2 separate regions of the Homo sapiens genome follow, and region 2 is linked to region 1. Evidence: promoter capture Hi-C in human tissues and cell types (Jung and others, 2019). All regions are on one chromosome and are shown on one strand. Each heading gives the region's core, a stretch centred on a gene start or on the middle of the fragment in contact. The rest is flanking DNA. Distances are from core to core; before and after follow the strand shown. Region 1 holds the start of CLNK (cytokine dependent hematopoietic cell linker). Region 2 has its middle 19 kb from the start of HS3ST1.

What was found. Contacts are between HindIII fragments. The study calls those that stand out against the background at their distance.
Region 2: a fragment that was not itself captured here is called in contact with the fragment with the promoter of CLNK in region 1 in 1 of the 25 tissues and cell types used here (lymphoblastoid cells).

Annotation. Positions count from the first base shown.
Region 1 is chr4:10,681,556-10,686,308 of GRCh38, forward strand. CLNK (cytokine dependent hematopoietic cell linker) reads right to left here and starts at 3,213. Exons shown (of 19, transcript NM_052964.4): 1 at 3,113-3,213. The HindIII fragment of the contact is 5,072 bases long and covers 1-4,364 here.
Region 2 is chr4:11,445,987-11,450,230 of GRCh38, forward strand. No RefSeq gene overlaps it. Among named protein-coding and RNA genes, the nearest start is that of HS3ST1, 19 kb to the left of the region's middle. The HindIII fragment of the contact is 6,395 bases long and covers 1-4,244 here.

The DNA of each region.
Region 1 (4,753 bases), core at 1,963-4,462:
CAATAGGATTTTGATTCTCATGCATAAGTGTTTAGGAAGCAGTGTTTCAATTAGTATCACCAATGAAATTTAAAAGAAACAACTAAAATACATATTTTGCTAATGCTTGTGGTGTATCTGGGAGTTCCTTAAATGCTGTTGACTAGTTTGGAAGACAGTGATTGATGCCCTGATCATGAACCTGGGAACATCAGCAGGGTACTCATGGAGCACCATGCCGAGAGCAGGAGCTCGGGGCTCGGGTGGACCTGGGTCTCATTTCTGGCATATCCTCCTATTCATTGCATGAAATGGACAATGCATGGAGCCTGCCTGAACTTCAGAATCCGTTTTGTAAAGTAAGAATTAAGTACACCTACTTAAAAAGTGAGAAATGATGAGCGTTTCTTGTCTATCAGCAACACTTAAATGGTAACCTGTAAGTCATTGCTCTTTGGAAGACATGATTAAAATTAAGCAGAATAATCACAATAATGATTCCCAAATATTCTGCCCATAAGAGTAACAAAAAATAAATAATAAACACAAAAATTGGTCCTATGATAGCTCTATTCCACAATTCTGTTTGTGTGTGTGTATGTGTGTGTGTGTGTGTGTGATTTTTTCGTTATTGCTGATATCTAACCTGATGCTTCTCAGTTTTATTGGTAAAATCGTGAATGTTTGGTTTAATCTGTTAAAAATCATAAATAGAATTTAAATTCAGGTATTTATCTCTCTGGTTAGTAATTTAGCCGCTTTGAACACTTTATGTTTCTTTGTCATGCTAGGAGGGTAGGTACAGCCTAGAAGAACTCTGCAGAACTCAAGTCTTGGCAGATGTTGGCAGTAGCTTATGACAGTGGATATAACTGCTCCATGTACTAGGATTCAGAAAAGGATGCTTCTAGATCTCTGTCTGCTACTCTTCATGTGAAAATTTAGCCAGTTCCTGGCTATCTCTTCTGTGTCAGACACTGTGTGCACATTTGCTCTCACTCTCGAAGCAACACACAAAATGTATTCTTCCTCCCAGTTTCAAATTACACAACTCCAACAACAGCTAACTAAAGATCAGAGAGGTTAAGCTACTTACCTAAAGACGAACAGTAAAGTCACACACTAGATTCATGTCCATTTTTGACAATCTCAAAGCCCTGTTTCTTTCCATTTCACCATGTTGTCCTTCCTCATCTTTTCTAAGCCCCAGTTTCACCTTTTAAATGCTCTAATACGTGCTCTGCCTACTTCATTAAGCTGTTAAGATCATTCAAGAAGAAAATATGTATTCAAAGGCCTACATTACATAGGGCTATACAACTGTGGAATATTACCATTCTCTAATGAGATTATTAAAATACAATATTTGTAAACTTATGTGTATTAATCAATTCTATGTTGATTGTGGTCATGTTTTAAGAATAAAATCAGAACTGATTTGGAGTGAGGAAAGGAAAGTAATGGAGAAAGAAGTCAACACTTACTGAATACTTGCTAAGTGTTAAGAATGCACCATATTTCACGTAATATAAATATTATATTATTGAGGCTAAATAATTGTCAATACAAGTCTTATGAGATCTTACTTTATTAAAAAGGGGGAGGAAATGAGGATCATATATGAAACAACATCCCTGGTCCAAGTGGCAGAGTCAGGATCCTCACCATTTTGATCAGGCGTCAAATCCTACAGTCTTTCTAAGACAGCACCTGACTCATGGCAAAGTGATCGAGAAACAGAATCCCCTGGTGTTCAGGCCAGAGCTGGCCAGATGGTACAGAAGATTATAAGCACTGGCTTTCAAATGGTCTTGCCTATACAGTCATCTGAGAGGGCTTGTTGGGAATAACAAAGAAATACTACCATTTAGATGGTTGGTGTCAGAGACCACCCAGGAGTGAGTTTAGGGATGAGCTCTGTGAAACTGCAAACTAACACTGTTCACCATTCCAATCAGTCAGCCAGGAAAATCAGTTTCCTTCTGAATTCTGTTACTGACATTAGTGACTGAACAACCTTGCACATATTACTTAGAGAACTCAAGTTCTTCACCTGTAAACCAGGGAAAGTAATAGCCAGCTCTCTAGGTCAGCAGGAGCTGAAGGTAAGTAAATGCCAGTTGCCATTCCTACTTCTCTAGGGCATACTGTATCTTAAGCTTCTTAGAGGATTTCTGAAGCGCTGTCATTTCTCTGGTAGGCCTTCAATTAACCAGCTCTACCATCGTCTTCTTGATATTTGAAATGATTATTCCTGGTGGTTTGGGAGGCCCCTGGAAATCCAAAGAACAACACTATTGAGGAGCTGCGCCACAGTATAGACAGAGACAGCCAGAGAAATAGCCATGTAGGTAATAGACAAGTAATACTCATAACAGAGAAGCCAAATGAGTAACACTGGTGTAAAGTAATAAAAACAGTATTGATAAAAAGTTCAGGCATATCGACACCTTTTAAAATCAAAGTATCCATATTTTGATGATAGTTATTTTCTTTTCTGTCTCATTCCAGTTTGTTTGCTTTATCCAATAAAAGCCTGGTAGAGATGACTCCCGGCACTTTTCAAGAGTAAGAATTTAACCCCAACTTTAACCTCACTTTTGAGCTCCTTACTCTTGTGAGTGGAAGGATGTCTGCGTGATTCCAAAGTCTAAGTCTCCTCTACACCAAAGCAGAAAGAAAATCGTATTACTTTAGAAAATGTTAAAAATATATTTCCACAGGGCTCCAGGAGTTAACTTATACTTTGAATGACCTACTTTGAATGGAGGCTTTCTTTCTAGAGGGCTTACTTAATGAAGGTCAGCCAGGAAAGCCAGCCATGGGGCCTGGTCTTTAGATTTCAGTTGCAAACAGTCGGGGAGTCCAAGCTCCAGGAAAAGAAGATTGAAAACATTTAGTCTTTTAATTTTCTGTGGGTAGGTATCCTGATTCTTTCTCCCAAAAGAATGAAAGGATCTTTAACAATTGAGTTAAGGGCTTTCTTCTTGCTCCTTTGATGCTATATATAAGGCCCAGACTTCCACTTTAGAAACACATTTTTACTTGCTGCTCAGGTCTTTCCTGATGATCATTTATGACAAGGAGATGACCATGAGATCCTCACTCAGAAGAACTGGCCTAATGAGTTTACCTGAACAGCGTGGAGAGCACCAAGGGATCTAGGCTGAGGTGTCCGTCTCCTGTGAGGAGGGGCGGCAGTGCAGAGACCTTGGGGCACTGGAAATTAGTAAGGCGGTGGGTTGAATTCTTCTCGATGCTAAGCAGTGCCCTTCAGCAGAAAACCTCCTGATAGGTCCGTTTTAGACTTGGTTTCCTGTGAAATGCAGCCACAGACCTGAGAGGTCTGACCTGAGGGCTGGCAGGACTTCCTCTTCTTAGGCTGGAGTGCAATACGTGAAGCTTTCAGAGGCTGAAATCTTCCAATGCAAAGGGTGTTTTTAAAGACACACGGTGTCCTTATGTGGCACTTCATAGTTACCAGAACACAATAAAAGGAACTGCTGGGCAACACTCAAGCATGGAAGGTGGGTTTTGCGAGTCTCACTTTATATGAATAGTGGACATTAACTATCATCTTTTGGCTTAATTTTGCAATGGCTTCCTGAGACCATCCCAGACACATGGACCAGGTGTTAAGGAAAGAACCTGGGAACTAAAGGAGAAATGCCTGCCTCTTATTCTTGCTGTATTAATTATTAGCTATAGGATCTTGGGCACTTTGAAGTTTATTTCTCAAGTAGTTTGAGTGATAATAATATTTGTATTTTAGAAACTTTTTTAAAAAATGAGGGATAATTGAGGATTATATTTCCTTCATTGAGGAAATGATATTTCCTCAATTGTGATGGAAGGATAATATTTATATTTTAGAAGTATTTCAATAAATAAACAAAATATTGTAAATAAAGGCATGCAGTAATGTTTGGGCACATATCAGTTGCTTAATACATTTTCTTTCGGCCTTAATCTTGGTCCATTTAAGCTGATCTTGCCGAGTGCCTGTTTCCTCTTCTGGAGACTTGACATTCTAGTTTTATATAAATTGATGTTGAATTCCATAACAAACTCCAACATTATTTACAATAAATTCAAAGGTAGAAGTTTATATTTTCTTGGGTAAATAACTCTGGTTTTGACTTAACAGACACCCCAAGGAAAACATGAAAATAAGCACTCTTTGAATGCTAATTGTGAGTCAGTTACATTGCTAAGCAACTTGCAAGCATTATCCTCCTTAATCTTACTAATAACCATGTAAGGAACATATGTAAAATCCCATTTTGTAATTGTGAAAACTGAAGACTAGGGAGACTCGAGTAGTTTAACCACTTTATTAATTAGCTTTTGCTGCATTAGGGGCTTAAAGCAGTAACCACTTTATTTAGTTCATAATTGTGTGTGTCACTTGCTCACTTCTTTTGGTCTGGACCCATATTAATTTTCTGGGGTTTTCATAACAAAGGACTGAGCCCTGAGTGGCTAACAAAACAGAAGGTCAAATTGTATTGTCTCACAGTCTGGCCTCTGGAAGTCTGAGATCAAGGAGTCGGCAAGGTTGGATCCTCCTGAGAGCCATGAGGAGAAGATCTGTTCCAGGCCTTTATCCCCGGCTTGTGGGTGTCTTTGTATCCTTGTTTTTGTGTTTACATGGCATTCTCCCTGTGTCTTTGTCCAAATTTCCCCTTCTTATCAGGAGAGGAGTCACAGTGAATGATGGCTCACCCTAATTACCCAATTTTAACTTGATTACCTCTTTAAAGACCCAGTCTCC
Region 2 (4,244 bases), core at 1,454-3,953, 760 kb after region 1:
TGTTAAAGAAGATTCTAATGCTCTACGCTCCTTTAATGATAAAAAAAAAAAAAAACCTGTATTGGGTAATGTGAACTTCAGCAAAAGAATAGATATGGGGGACGCCAAGGAAGGCACCTCAAGCCATTTTGTTATTTCCATTCAGGTTCTTTTCATCTTTGAGCATTATCATCATCATCATCATACTAAAGCCCTGTACACATATTATGTATGAAAAGGAAGTTGTAAGTACTATGGTTTGTAGATCCTGGGGAACTGCTTGATGCCATGAGGCTAGTTTGAATCCTGCTTTTCATTTCTAATGGTTCAGACACTGGACATGGGGGCCTGAGGGAGAAGCTGATGACTCACTTTTTCTGTTTGTACCAGTATGCTATTTTTGCATGCAGCTAAGTTTGCCAGAGAGAGAAAGGTCTTCTGGAGTCCCTCAGTCCTAATGTACTTTAAATGCTATACATAGAGAAGTAGAGAATCCAAGAGCTCAGTTCCCACACACTGGGCTTGCTCTCTAAAAGCAGAGGGATGTTTGAATTTAGGTATGTGAGCCCTCTTAGACTTGAGCTTTTAGGTTCAGGCTATTTCATTTAAGGTGTTACTGCTGAGGCAAAACATATACTATGAACAATTTGAGTCATGCCCATGGATGTCCCTAGAAGTACAGACAGATCAGAAATGGGACTGAGCTGAGCTCTAATACAAACCTTTAATTTTACCTACAGAAAAATAGAAACTCAGAAAGGTTAAATGCCTAGACAGAATTTATGCAGTTAATTAATGACAGCATCCAGACTTGATTTCAGACAAAGTAGCCATGGTGTTCTTTGAAAAGCCGTAAAGAAACCGAAGCTCAGAAAGAAAGTCAGTCGCTCTCAGTTGCTTGGAGGAGAGGTGAGTTCTAACTCAGGAGGCTGGACCTGGGAGGGGAAACACTCCATTCAAGGAGAATGATTCTCCTTCTCCTTGTCTAGACTTTTAGGAGTCCAAATGATAGACAAAGATGAAAATAGTACCTGTCAAGTCAAGTGCGATCAGGACATAGGAAGAGAAGGAGTCAGGAATAATTCCCTTTCCTTAGGGGTTCCATGTGGATGGAGTGGGCCTCTTAGATGTTTTGATTTTATAGGACTGTTTATTTCCTTGTTTCTGCTCTTCAGCATTTAGTAAAGGGCCTATTGATTTTCATTATTTTTAATTTCAGCCTTGCCTCAGCCTCAGCTGGACAATGGGGAGTTCATTGAAAGGGCTTTCTTTTTTCTGTCTGGGCCAGAGTGTTTGAAGATTACTACCCTCTGAGGCCAGCAGGATGGTGACAATGGAAACAGAGAAGGAGGCGAAGCAAGAGAGGATCTGGAAACAAGTTCAGAGCTCCAGAATCTGGTGCTCCTTCCTCCAGGGTATTTTCTTTCCAGTGCCAGCCTCAAAGGGATTGATTTTTATTTTTGCGCAAAATCCATTTAGGCCCTAGGTCAAAGGCCTCCTTTCTCACCAAGTCTCCACAATTTGCCATCTACCCCTTCAATGCTGTCTTCTGTCTTCTATAGTCCCTTAACTGGACAATCACTCCTATGCTTATAGTTTGGCTTGTATTCAAATTAGTTATGAATAGTTCTGTCCATCCCTTAAGACTGTAATCCTTCCCACAGCAGGGAAAGCATCATTTTTACTCTATAACAATCCTCTCCTCTAGCCCCTGCTCCAATAGACACCCGATAGACACTGCTAGGTGTCTATTACATACCTGCACCAAGTAACTAATTATACGGTAGTGTTTTCCACACTTTTATGATGACAAGAATTATGTGGTAGAACTGGTTAAAAAAAATTTCTCAGATCCCACCCTGACCCTCTGTATAGGAATGTCCAGGGGCAAAACCTAGGAAGCTGTTTTTTTTTTTTTTTTTTTTTTTTTTTGAGACGGAGTCTCGCTCTGTCGCCCAGGCTGGAGTGCAGTAGTGCGATCTCGGCTCACTGCAAGCTCCGCCTCCTGGGTTCATGCAATTCTCCTGCCTCAGCCTCCTGAGTAGCTGGGATTACAGGCGCCCACCACCACGCCTGGCTAATTTTTGTATTTTTAGTAGAGATGGGTTTTCACCATCTTGGCCAGGCTGGTCTTGAACTCCTGACCTCATGATCTACCCTCCTCGGCCTCCCAAAGTGCTGGATTACAGGCATGAGCCACCGTGCCCAGCCGGGAAGCTAAATTTTTAACCGGAGTTGCAAGTGACTCTTATCAGTAAAGTTTAGGAAACTCTCTTCCAGAAGGTGAGAAGGAGAGATAGCTCTATGCTGGGGTGGCCTTTTTGTGTCGAATATATTGGAGATGAGTATTGTGGGGTCAGAGGCTGTCAGAAGGGCAAATTATTACCAAACTTCATTCTTTCTGTTCCCCTGAAGTGAGCTACATGAAGCCCTGCAAAATCGCTCAGGAGCTGCGTAAAATGTCTCTCCTGGCATCCTCATTTGCCCTTGCCGTTGCTTTCAGACATGCAGTTTTTACAGTGTCTCAGTCCTTGTCTTCACTTCCTGGTCCCCCGAGTCTGAGTGTGATGCTAAAGCGAGAATGTCCTTGAATGTTCTTGATCTCGATGTGTCGGCCACTCTCGGAAGCCTTCTGTCTGCTCCCCACCCTTCCGGGCAATTCCACGTGTGTGACCCTCTCTCTCTCTCTTTCTTTTTTCTTTCCTTTTTTTTCCCCCTTAACTCCCCTCATACTCCATGTCTCTGTTTTCCCCCTGGGCAATGAGTGCAGAAAGAGTTTTTACGCACGCAGTGGTTTCCCACTGCTCTAAAGTCCAAACCTCTAAATGAGGCCCTGTTCTGCCTACTTGATTCAGACAGAGCCTTCTTTACAAGCAACAAAGATGGACTCAGTGAAAAGGGAGATTATTGGAAGGGTTCTCGGGGATCTATAGAAGAAACTAGAAGCAGGAGGACCAGACTTAGGAACGGGTAATCAACAGGGGAGCTGATCATCGAAGATTGCAGCAGGGGTCACAACAGAAGCATGAGCTGGCTGCTGAGGCCTCCGCATTATTTGGCCACTCTTTCAGGATACAAACCCCAGAATTAATTGACAACTGGATAAGCCCAATTCATGTGCCAGCTTCCTGTTGACCAAGGACAGGGCGGGAAGAGCTGCGCTTGGTTTTTCTTTTTAAGTGATAGACTGGAGCGTTTCACCAAGACTTCACTAAGAAGAGTTTCTCAAAAGGGAGAAAGTGGTGAGATAATAGAAAAAGAAGCTTGGTTGTCAAAGAACTTAAAATTGATGTGTCTTCTATGACAATGCTCCAGCCTTAAAAAAATGGAAGTGTTTGGAGAAAAATATAAATTACACAAAACTCAAAGGCTTTTTAAAAATTAATGTATTAGTCTGTTCTCATGCTGCTAAGAAAGACATATCTGAGACTGGGTAATTTATAAAGGAAAGAGGCTCAGTGGACTCACAGTTCTACATGGCTGGGGAAGCCTCACAATCACGTCAGAAGGCAAAGGAGAAGCAGAGTCATGTCTTACGTGGCAGCAGGTAAGAGAAGTGCTGAACAAAATGGGACAAAGCCCCTTATAAAACCATCAGATATCCTGAGACTTGTTCACTACCACGAAAACACTATGGGAGAAACCACTCCATGATTCAATTATCTCCACTTAGCCATGCCCTGCGTGGGGATTATTACAATTCAAGGTGAGATTTGGGTAGGGACACAGCCAAACCATATCAATGAATGCACCAAGTGGCCTTGTCTTCCTCTCTTTCCCTCTTTTTGCTCCCCCTCCTCCCATTTCCTCTTTTTCTCTTCTCTCTCTTTGCCTCTTTTTCTCCTTTCTCCCTGTCATTTTACTGGCAGTTATGTTCTTCTGTTCAGTATTAGGAAAGTTCCAGATGAACTTGGAGGAGGAAGTGGAAAAGTAAGACTCTAAGTTGTGAGAAAGGAAATTGGGATGAGGTGTGTCCATGGGAGTTAACGAATTAAAACCACTAAGAGTTTATCATCTTGCTTTAGCGTTGATTTGGGGTTCTTCTTTCCAATCCACAGCACACAGAGATGTTCATTTAAAATAGGTCCTTAGAGTTTGAGGGTCCTTCTAACATTTAACTCAGAGATTTCCCTGCAGATATTCCTCTGTAAGAAAATAATCTAGAAAAATTGGGGAAAAAGTTTATACAGAAAAATGCTCATTTCAGCTTTATTTATAACAGCCTTCAAATTGGAAACAACCTAAATGGGATGAGTATCTCCATG